Regions from separate parts of the Homo sapiens genome. Here region 2 is linked to region 1. Evidence: promoter capture Hi-C in 16 types of primary human blood cells and fetal thymus (Javierre and others, 2016). All regions are on one chromosome and are shown on one strand. The core of a region is centred on a gene start or on the middle of the fragment in contact, and the rest is flanking DNA. Distances in the headings are between cores, read along the strand shown. Region 1 holds the start of STXBP5L (syntaxin binding protein 5L). Region 2 overlaps LOC107986121 (a long non-coding RNA gene).

Region 1 (5,965 bases), core at 1,090-3,589:
CATTCCAAGACAACTCAAAAAAGGGCAATAAAATTATAAATCACTTTATGTCATAAAATATAACAAATATAGCAATAACAATATCTCTATGCATTAACCTAATGCTTGTTTTATAAACTCTCATCTTCTCTACCTACCAGAAACTCTCTTTTGCATATTCATTAGAAGTTCAATATCAAAGTATAATTACATAAAATGTTTTCTTACTAAACCAGAACACCCGCTATTTTTGAGTTCCTACAACTGCAAGTTCTTATAAGCCTGTGCATTTGTCTGTTTGTGTATTTATGAAGAGTTTAAGAATGTGAAGGTGTTTTTATTCGGAATTTTAAAGCAATGTCATTGGCCCCCTTAAAATGAACATATTTTCCTATTATCTACTTAATCCTAGCAACATGCTAGTAGCTTTATTCATTTCATACTGAACAGTGAAATAACAATATTTTCTCTGATAACACAAAAAACCAAACGACTATTTGCTTCTTCAGTTAATATAATACACAAATATTAAAAATTTTGTCCACTATTGGATCTTAACATTATCTTGCAAATTCTACTTTTTGTGTGTGCTCATTTCCCACTTAAACTATCATTGCTTTTTAAGTTGACGCCTAAAATATCTATTAAGCCAAACTGATCTACCCACAGAGCTTTCTGCAGCAGACTCTGATGCTGACATCTCAACAGTTTCCTGTTCCTGGTATGTTTTTCCCCCCTTGTTTCCTTACAACAGTATAATAAAGAAATAATAGGCTTTAAGCCAATTCAAAACTTACCTTGCAAATCTGGAAATACTCCGAAGTCAAAGTTTCCTGAATTTCCTCTCTGAGAACCCCTGCAGTCCCCGCCGGATGTACGGAACCACTTCCAGCCCCACCACCACTGTTACTGCCACTGCTGCTACCACTGCCAGGGGAGGAGGCAGTTAAGCCATCCAAAACTTTTCGGAAATTAAACTTCTTCATTTTAAACACTGTTGAGAAATACAAAGGAAAAAAAGGGAAAGAGGTGACTTAACACGTGCAATTAGACCTTGGTAAAAGCCTTTCTCTTTTCATTAGTCAAGTCAGTCCCCATTTTATGAGCATTGGTTACGACCGACTGGAAAAAAAGAGTCAGGATTCGTTTTGCCAAATTTTAATTCTAAAAAGCATATCCTTTTTAAAAAAAGATAAATATAACACAACTCCAAAAGCAACAGTATTCCCTCCTCACACATCAGATTTTCAAGGACTGTATCCCCAGCTGTAACTACGCTTTATCAGCACTGGGGTAAAAATAAAAGGCAGTGTCATCATCGTCATTAGCATTATATCATCATTATTATACAATCAAACCAGAGTTCAACAGACCAAGACTCTGTCTCTCTCTTAAGGGCGGACTTTCCTTCTTCGAAACGTTCGGCTCAGAGTATTTTATTTTCAGAAAAACGACGTTGGGGGAGCCGGTATTTACTCTGCCACCACCTTCCGGGCTCTTCCCCCATCAGCTTCAACGCTTCCTTTTTTGTCACTATGAAAGGCGGGGAGGGGGGTACTTTTTCTAGTCCCCATCCCCCAGCAGCCCGGACCCCAAAACATCTGCGAGTGACCCACAGCAACAGCTGCCGGGGAGGGGGGGAGGAGGAGAACGGCGACACCGTCTGTTTCCACTTGTCCCTCCGCCTCCCCCTCACCTCCCCCTCATCTCCCTCCCCGCGTCCTCTTTCCCCCCTCTCCCCATCTCCTGCTCCCCTCCCTCCACCTCTGCCCGCAGCCGCCGCCGCGCTCTCCCGCCTGTTCGCCCGCCCGCCGTCCGCTCTCCCCGCTGCACGGCAGCCGCTCTCGGGGGACGTGAAGCGGTGGCGGCGACGGCTGCGGCCCGAGTCCCGCCTCAGCCTGCTGGGCGCGCAGAGCCGCCGCTCCCGCTGTCCCTCCCCCAGGCCCAGCGCTGAGGCGCGGGGCTCTCGCCCGCCCGCGGGCGCGCGAACACACAAACACCTCACGCCGAGGCATTCGCGCTCCCAGCCAGAACACACACAAACACCCTCACACGGGCATTCGCGCGCTGGTGCGCTCGCTCTCTGTCTCTGTCTCTCTCTGTCTCTCTCTCTCTCAAACACACACACACACTCACACAGACACACACAGGTGCGAGGGAGCCACAGCTGGACGGCGGCAGCGGCGGCGGCGTCCCAGAGGGATGACTATCTGACCCAGGACTTAGGCACCTTCCTCAGACGCCTCTAGCCGCCTGCCAGCCCGGGAAGCTGAGGGGGCCGAGGTAGGCGGGCTCCGGCCGCTTCTCTGGGCCCTCTGGTCGCGGCGCCTGGCGCTCTCCGAGGTCCTAACCGAGCAGTCAGGCTCCAGAGCAGGCTCCGCCCTCCCGCCGTGGGAGGCAGGCCCCGCCCCCGGGCCGGCCCCTAGCTTGCCCCGCCCTGCTTCTTCCCCGGCAAAGCTGGGAGGTGAAGGGGGCGGGGTGCCCGGGGACGTCAAAGGGCGGGAGTAGCTTCGGCGCCAATCCTAGATTCGATAGGGTAAGTTCTGTGGTCTCCAGGGCAGAAGAAATCTGTGGATAGGCCGAAGGTAAAGCCAATGACAGTGGGAGGGGGGAATTTAGAGAAGTAGGTGAGGTATTTGATTGACAGCGGTATTGGCCAGTATGCTGGGGGTCGTGCTCTGGGGGATGTAATTGGCGCTACCTGTTGAAGGACTCAAGTGTGAATCAATAGAATGCCTGCAAGCGTGCGAATTTGGACGCCTGGAGTCTGAGGATGCGGGAAGCGTTGCTTACCTTAGGTATGGCTCTGGACAGTATGGTGAACTGAGCAAGTGTTTTGCACCTTTTCACTTCTGCGAGCCTCTTCCCGGTCTTCAGGAGCATCTATCTGGCTCCCATCACTCTCCTGCTACCTGCACTCAACTTGTATCTGTGATTAACCCCTGCTGTTACCAATAATGGCTTAATGGTTCGTATCTGCCAAGGAGAATTGTATTTCAACAGTTTCAGAATATATAGCCTTCTAGAGCCTAAGGAATTGATTGCTTACCTTGCTCTCTAGTAAGTAGAATTACTCCTTCCCCATCATCCTCACATATACAAAGATATTTAATTTCTTTAAAGAAATATTTCTCACTCTGTAAACCGTATCAAGAATATATTTTAAGCTATTTCTGTGAGTCACAATAATCATTTTGAAAGATGTATTATTCAGTGCAGAAAAAAAAACTGTATCAGGATAGATTTGGTTCTGAGCCCTCACCTGCTATTGACTTCGGGAAAATTTGGACCCCGATGTCTTTGCGAAATGAATGGCAGTTCAGCGGGTCACAGCTAACTGAGACTTCAATTTGGGCATCACAACAGAACTCATTAGTGATCATTTCAAATATTGTCTTACATCTTACAATCTTTGACCTCTTTTTTTCTTTTCTTCTTTTTCTTCTTTTTCACCTCTCCTCTTCTCTCTCTCTCTTTTCTCTCAATCAAGGGAGAGAGTGGGAAGGAGGAAGCAGGAGACTTGAAGGATGATGACTTGTCCAAGGACATAGCAAAGAAATGGTAAAGATGAAATAGAGCTCAGTTTTTCAGATCCTCAGCTCAACGTTGAATCTTTCTGTCCTGAATGACTATTTCACTCCTTTTGGGACTCCCTACACTGCTGGTAGTCTCTCATTGCCACAGCTAGACAGTAACCTTCTTGAAGGCAAGCATGGAATTGTATATTTCTCCTAGATTATTTAGCACCAGGCACAATATTTCACTTAAAATAGGCACGTAAAGGGTTCTGAAGAGTTGGTTTATTAATATTTTTTATTAAAGATATATGAGTTGGTACCCAATTACATAATGTTTGAAAGGGGTAAAAATAATGGTGGAAATAAGTGATATGTCTGACACAAACTAGATCTTGGTAGGGTTCCAAATTCTGTATTGGGTCCCTAACAACAGGTATCTTTTTACTCTTTTCCACCTTTTTTCTTCTCTTCTTCCTGGCCCATTGCTCACCTCAAAGTATGGACGCTAGTTAAGGATAAAGAGTTTGCTTTCCTTGTTTTATGTCTGTCTTTTCTTTTTAAAAACAGAGGCAAGGAGGGTTATAATAAAGTGGCTGAGTTTTCATTTTTCTAATAAATGAAAGCAAGCCTATAGCAAGTAGTGGTTTGACATTTTGATGGGAGCGAAGAAGGAGAATAGCCCCAATTCAGCAAAGTGAGATGTAATGTTTGCAAACAAAACCTCTTAAACTGATCATCACTAGCACCATATTATCACAAACTAAATGATGGTCTTTATTCTAAAAATTGGGGGAGAGCTGAGGAAAAAAGTACACAAAAGATTGACAGAGATCCTTCTTGAGGACCCTGGAGAGAATTCAATGGACTGCCTGAGTTAGATGGGACAACAAATAGGTATAGGAAGTGGGAGAAAAGCCAAGTCAAAATGTATTCATGTTTCCAAATAAATATTGGAAGCCTAAAAAAATATGATCATTAGGATGCTTAGATTGTGGACTATTTGGGATTATTTCAAATATCTGTGTTCCTCCACAGTGAATAGCATAATGTCTTCTACATAGTAAGTGCCCAGTGAATATTAATTTGAATGAATGGCAGCAAGTAAAAATCATAACATAATTGCAGTCTCAGAGAGCCTGTGCACACAGGATATTGTGATGCCAATTCACAAACTGTGAGCAAAGGATAGAATTAAGCAAGAGGCAGAGTACATTGTGTGTATGAGGAGACAGCAGAAACAATAGCCTAAAAATCTTACTAGGTGAGAGAAGCATAATGAAATATCTATGGAAGTAAATTTCATCCTGGATTAATTAAAAAGCAATAAGATGTTATTTTATAAACCATCTATTAACAGCAATGAGACCAGACCACAGCATATATTTTATAAATAATGTGAGAAACTTCAGAGTTGGATCGGGTAATAATAATGATGACCCCTTATCATTCACTGCAAACTGGAAGAATACTTTGTGGAGAGGAATGGCTGAGGTACAGCTTCTGAATAAGGCTTGATTTCTTCCTAAAATGACAAGTATGAAGAACTGCAAAAAGAAAAATACTTTCAGCTTGATCCATGGAGCAAAATCATCAAAGCATTTAAATAAATCTACTACATCAGAAGGATTTTTAGGATGTGTGTTGAAAATATGTTACAACTCACTTTAAGTGTTCGTGATTTTGGACTCAAGCCAACAATGAAGCTAAGAGAGGCTGCCTTTCCACACCTGCAAAATAATTAAATAATTGTAGAAAGTATGTACATGTGTGGCACTTCACACAGAGAAGAAAATTTAACTGGCTAGGGTTACAGAAAACTAAGCAAAATTGACAAAACCATATGTAAATAATCCATTGTATATAGAGATAATAATAATTCTACCAGTTATTTAGCACTACGTCAAACATTGTACTATGAACTTTACATACAACTCTTTTAACTTGATCCTTATTATAACTCTATAAGATAGGTATTGTCCCCATTTTATGAAAGAGGAAATTTGGAGCTCAGAAATATTTAAGAAATTCACCCAAGGTCACTTAGGTGGATAATCCAGTCTTCGAATTCAAAGCTGTCTAACTTCTAAGATCATGCTCTTAATCGGTGCCTTATTATTTGATACCATTTAGAAGATTAAATAGAAACTAGAATAGAAAAAAAGGTGGCGGGTCAATTCTCCACCTAAAATAGTGATTGTATGTGTATTAGTCTTTCAGGACTGCCATAACAAAATACCATAGACTGGGTAGCTTAAAAAACAGGAACTTAGCACAGTTTGGGAGGCTAGAAATCCAAGATCAAGGCATCGGCAGATTTATTTTCTTCTGAGGCTCTCTCAATGGCTTGCAGATAGTCACCTTCTCTCTGTGGCCTTACATGGTCTTTTCTCTGTGGGCTCACATCCCTCGTTGATTTCTCCATGTGCCTAAATTTCCGCTTCTTATAAGGCTCCCAGTCAGATTGTGTT
Region 2 (5,965 bases), core at 2,591-5,090, 410 kb after region 1:
GGTGTGGTAGAGGGGTCTCTTACCACTAGGGAACATATCTGAGTCATGCAGCATCAAAGTATGTTAGTGGCAGAAGTTATCCAAGTCCCACGGCACCAAAATATGTTACCAGTGGCCAGTATCCAAGTTACTGGGGCGAATCTGTATGAGTCTGCAGCAACCTCAATTCTTGCCTCCTCAGAAGAAAGAATTCAACTGAGGGACATAAGGCAGAAGGAGAGACTGAGGCAAGTTTTAGAGCAGGAGTAAAACTATATTAAAAGTTTTAGAGCAGAAACAAAAGGAAGAGAAATACACTTGAAGAGAGCCAAGTGGGTGACTTGCAAGACAAGTGGGTAATTTGACTTTGGGGTTTTATAAGTTGACATACTTCTGGGGTCTTTTATCCCTTTTCCCCGATTCTTCCCTTGGGATGGGCTGTCCACATGCGCAATGGCCTGCTAGCACCTGGGATGGGGACATGCGCCATGTGTTTACTGAAGTTGTATGCATGCTCACTTGGGGCATTCTTTCCTTACCAATCTTGCATTTCTAGAGGAAGGTCATATACCAGTTAAACTCCACCATTTTGCTTCTTAATGCTCATGCTCGAGCTCACTCACCCAGCTCCTGAAATCTTATTGGGAAGCTGCTGGTCACCAGTTTCAGGTTTTTTCTATCTATAGGGGGACTGCCTTTCCCTGGCACTGTCTGTGACCAATTATTATTTTAGAGAGACAGTTGACAACTGCCTGACCCTCACCTGTCACCTGACATTCCTGGTGTGTGTGTGTGGTGGAAGGGGGGGTGTAGTGGGGGGGGGGGGAACAAGGAGAAACCCTCTCCTGCTCTGCTCATGTCTGACTAGCTACCTACTGTAACACTTTTTCCTTACCATATATCTGTGGTTTGCTTGAGAACCAGCAGGAGAACTTTTTCTTTTTCTTTTAAGATATATTGAGCTGGGCATGGTAGCTCACATCTGTAATACCAGCACTTTGGGAGGCCAAGGTGGGCAGATCACTTGAGGACAGGAATTCGAGACCAGCTGGCCCACATGGCAAAATCCCGTCTGTACTAAAAATACAAAAATTAACCGGGTGTTGTGGCATGCACCTGTAATCCCAGCTACTCAGGAGGCTGAGGCAGGAGAATTGCTTGAACCCAGGAGGCGGAGGTTGCAGTGAGCCAAGGTCATGCCACTGCACTCCAGCCTGAGTGTCAGAGTGAGACTCTGTCTCAAGAAAAAAAAAAAAAAAATGAAAGATGTATATGCCATAGTCTCTCCTGGACTGAAATAGAGTCCCAAATTCATGCTTTTTTAGAGCTTTTTATATCGCATGCCCAGGACTGAAAATAACTTGGCTAGAGATATATAAAATAAATTCCAAAACTTTAAAATGATTTCTCCTACTATCATATTTTAAAATATTATCTTCTTCTAATTCAATTAATCAGTGATCTGCGTTTGAGAAGAAAACAAAAGGAAATATATTCCAGTACTTTAATTGAGGACAGGAGAAAATAAGATCTGAGCATTTGTCACAGTGAAGGTGAATATACTCCAGCATTCTGGCAGGGAACTGATAGTACATGCAAATGGGATTATTGAGAGAATTTAAAATAAACTATTTACCAGGTGTAGTGAAGGGTAAGGGAAAACCCAAGGGATGGGGTAAGTGTCCCAGGGTTTCCTAGTGGGAACCACCGGGCCTGAAGGGCAGGAGAGAGGAGGGGCAGCTGTAGGAGGGGGCCACCAAATAGGGGCTGTCAGGAGAGAAACAACCTGCAACCCAGCCAGGAGGAAACTAAATGCCCAAACCTCATCCTTCTGCCACCTTCCCAGCTCCTGCCAGCCCCTCCCACTGGCCAAACCCAGCTGGAGGCAGAGGGCAAGAAAGCTGGTTGATGCAGACCATGTAGTCAGCCTTCAGCCTTCAAGGGCATTGTGTAGAGTGGAGAAGGGTGGAGCAAGGGTTTAGAAGGGTAAATGGAGACTGTCTAGCTCAGTAGATGATCTTACCTCCGTTCATGGACACCTTAACTCCTTTATGTGCTTGGCAATTCATTGGTAACCTTCCTAGTTGCTTGGTACATGAACATTGTTGCTGCATTTGGGTAAATCTCCATATTTAAAGCCCTGTTTTTCCCAGATAGAAAATTTGTTTCCCCAGCCCCTCAATTGCAGCTAGCTCATTAGCTTGTGAATGAGAGTCCCCCAATTAGCATTATCCAAGCACAGCAGAGCCTTGCTTGAAGAAAGAAGCTTTAGGCAGAATTCATTGTGCTGCTGAGGATTGTGAGAGGGGTGACTGGCTTTCAGGGTCAGCAGAGGTAAGACTGAAACAGCACCTACATACTGCGGAGGGTGTCTTCACATCAGAAATGGCGGTGATGCTGGGGCAGTCGTAGCTTCAGTAAAGTCAAATTGCTGCAAGCATCTAGTTCATGTATCATCTAGTGGTCAGTGCTTGGAGCAGTACTGATTTTTCTCAACAGGCCAGTTCTAAAGTTTTGAGCCATTTCCGAAAGTTTGTCCTCAGGTCTGGTTCTCTGGCCTTCCCAACAAGTTTGTGAGCTACACAAAATCCTTGTAATAAATTACTTTTTTGACTAATCAGCCGGAGTCAGCTTTTGATGCTTGTGTCTATGGACCCTGAAATACATAATACTTCTATTATTTTATCTACTCTTATTTTTTTAAATCTCTTACATTTATCTAAATTAGACACTTAATAGGTTACTGCCATGTGATAGATGGACTAAGGAGCATACTGGCTAAATTCAGCTTTCTATCTGGAGCAAAAAAATGCTGGTATGCACATATTTTTATTTAAAAAACACAGCAGATTGAAACTGAGACCTTAAGGAACCTGGGTGTAAAATACCTTTGCTTTGTAAATAATTAAACATTAAGTAGAAATCATTTATCAAGCCTCCTAGTTATATCACTTTTGATATATGCTGTGGATGATTTTGTTGGAGAAATACCAATCTAGAAGAACCCAACCAGCTCTAGCTTTGCTACCAGTATACCATGAAGCTTGGAGCAAGACCTTTAATTTCTGTTTCTTCTTGCAGATCCAGAAATGAGGGGCCTATAATATAAGACCTTTGATATTCCTTTGAGCTCTAAAATCCCGTGATTACATATCTTTTTAAAAATCTTGAGGGAATATACTTGGCTTTTTCTGTATGTAAATCTTGAGGAACCACAGAATTTGCAACTCAATTCAGAGAGCTCTTGTTCAGTAAGAACAGTTTGACCCTTGACAGGGAAAACCATGACCTATTATTATTATTTTTATTGTTTAATATAGAGATGGGGTCTTACTATGTTGATCAGGCTTGTCTCAAATTCCTGGCCTCAAGCAATCCTCCTGCCTCAGCCTCCCAAAGTGCTGGGACTATAGGTGTGAACCATTGTGCCCGGCTCCTATTATTTTTATAATCAGCCAGTCGTCCTAACACTGCTAAAGACAAAATTCCCATTCAGTTTTTAAGCATGACAGCCCATGGCCTATGTACTAATTAACAGTCACAGAAAAGGGAAAGCATGGCAAGGTAGATTTTTTTTTTTTTTTTTTTTTTGAGATGGAGTCTCCCTTTGTTGCCCAGGCTGGAGTGCAGTGGCGCGATCTCGGCTCACTGCAAGCTCTGCCTCCCGGATTCACGCCATTCTCCGGCCTCAGCCTCCCAAGTAGCTGGGACTACAGGTGCCCGCCACCACGCCTGGCTAATTTTTTGTATTTTTTAGTAGAGACGGGGTTTCACCATGTTAGCCAGGATGGTCTCGATCTCCTGACCTTGTGATCCGCCCTCCTCAGCCTCCAAAAGTGCTGGGATTACAGGTGTGAGCCACTGCACCCAGCCGGAAAGGTAGATTTTTTAAAAACAGCTGTGGGCTTCTAATAAGCTGGGACGGGAAGCTCACACTTTCGCATTGCCATTCTTCCCCAAGCACATGGCAAAGATGGATAAACTAGAAAAAAAAAACAAAAAAATGATGACATTGCAGAGTTCAAGACAAAAAAAAAAAGATGATTATTTCCATGATGAGAATAAGCAATAGAATACAAAAGAGTGAGTTGGGCTGAAGCCACGGGCCTGCTGGCTCCAGGTCCAGAATCAGGTGGCGGTGGCTGGGTGACGGGAAGTCTACTACTCCACCTGAGAAAAGGGACCTGAATTTGAAGCATTGCTCTTAGACCGAGCTATGACTTATGGAATCTGTGGGCCCAGGGAGGTGTGAGGATACAGATGCAGTCTTGAAACCAGAAAAAGACCCAAGCCACATGTTGGCTTGGTGACTGGACCTGAGATATCTGTGACATTGTCATGACCTAGAGCCTTGAGCTGCATTTATAGCACCTGGTTCTGACATGGAATTCCAGAAAGCCGGGTGAAAAGACACCCACAAAACCACTGGATTTAGAGAAACAGTCACAGGGACAGAGGAGAGACAAAAAGACTGAAAACAACAAAAAACATTTTAAAATAAACCTGCAAATCAAAATTGCAAAATTCACGAAATCTAATCCTGAAAAAAATATACTCAATAAAATATGAAATCAGAACATGAATTCAGAACACAAATTCATTCAGAACATGAACTCACTCCAGAAGGAAATTAACTTTAATGAACAGTGTGACATATTGGTTAAAACAAGGAAGCTTAAAGAAACCCATAAGAGAATAACGATTATAAAAAGAACTAGCCGTCATGGAACTAAAATAGGCAAAAATAAAGCGAGAAGAGATAAATATGCAAAAATAACCAAATAGAAATATAGCCCTTGATATTTTAAAAAATACTTAATAGATGGAATGAACTCTAGACTCAGTAAGGGAAGTTCTGGTGAATGGGAAGATCATAAGGAGGAGTTCACACCAAATTCAACACAGAAAGACAAAGAGTTCAAATATATGAATGAGTGGTTACATGCATATGGATCCAGAAAAAGAGAATGAAAAGAATGACAGAGAAGGAACATAAGATGCTTAACATGAGAGCTTTTGTCCTAAGAATTATCCAGTTCAAAAGACATAAATCTCAGATTGAAAGTTCTCTCTTGATACCAGAAGAATAAATAAAAATAAATTCCCACCTAGGAGCATTGTAATGAGACTTAGAACATAAAGAGTACGAGGAAATCTTACATGTGACAGGAAGAAAACTCAGATTATCAAAAAGAATAACACTATGAGACTTCTCAGCAGCAACTCTAAATGCTACAAAGCAATGGAGAAAGCAGTCTTTAAAGTCGTGAAGGAAAAAAAACTTCCAACTTAGACTGTTATATCCAGCTGATCTTGCTCACGTTATTAACCTTTTCTCTCCCATCCCTACTCTTCCTCACTTTACTCTTCCCTCACTGACCTGGGGCTCCTTAACTCCATGATATGGGCACCAAGCACCTGCAGTCTCTTGTATCTCACCACCCTAGAGCAGCCAGCCACACCTCTGTGGCCTAGAGTTTCTGCTGCCTCCTTCCCTATACCATGCAACCTGGGCAACCAGGACCAGAAGCAGAAAGAAATGCTGCCCCCTTATCCTTCATGCAATCAAATTTGTGCAGCGGGTGGGGAGGAGGTAAGAAATATGAATGCCTGGGAAAAGGAGGAGCTCCAGGTAATGGGAAGAAAGATGTGACAGGACATTTTTGAAAGTTCAAATACATCCACATTCTGTTGAAACCTTGAAACTTTAAATATTTAGGCTCTTGTCATTATCTTAAGTTCTTCATGCTACTCTTGACGTCCCAAAAAGCAGTCTCTAAGTCACATAGATGATCTCTTGGGCATTTTCTCTCTCAGCCATGGAGAGCTATGAAAGGAAGAATCGCTGCTTTTCTCAAGCAAATCAGTTTCTTGATGTCTTTTGGTTCTCACTCCTTCCCTGCTCCTGATGCTTTGACCCCTTTTATAGATCAGAGGGCTCTAGGGTAATGAATGGTCTTGGGTGGTGAATAAAGGTGGATAAATA

Evidence for each region. Contacts are between HindIII fragments. The CHiCAGO score rates a contact against its expected background, and 5 or more counts as called.
Region 2: a contact is called between a fragment that was not itself captured here and the fragment with the promoter of STXBP5L in region 1, in 1 of 17 cell types (total CD4 T cells). The highest score is 5.0, in total CD4 T cells.

Annotation. Positions count from the first base shown.
Region 1 is chr3:120,904,579-120,910,543 of GRCh38, reverse strand. STXBP5L (syntaxin binding protein 5L) reads right to left here and starts at 2,339. Exons shown (of 27, transcript NM_001308330.2): 1 at 2,210-2,339; 2 at 777-973. The coding sequence starts at 965. LOC105374069 (a long non-coding RNA gene) reads left to right here and starts at 2,451. Exons shown (of 6, transcript XR_924399.4): 1 at 2,451-2,515. RefSeq lists a silencer at 2,268-2,507. The HindIII fragment of the contact is 9,292 bases long and covers 1-5,965 here.
Region 2 is chr3:120,500,343-120,506,307 of GRCh38, reverse strand. All of the region lies in intron 2 of LOC107986121 (a long non-coding RNA gene), which reads right to left. Among named protein-coding and RNA genes, the nearest start is that of FSTL1, 52 kb to the right of the region's middle. RefSeq lists an enhancer at 5,573-5,965. The HindIII fragment of the contact is 1,631 bases long and covers 3,025-4,655 here.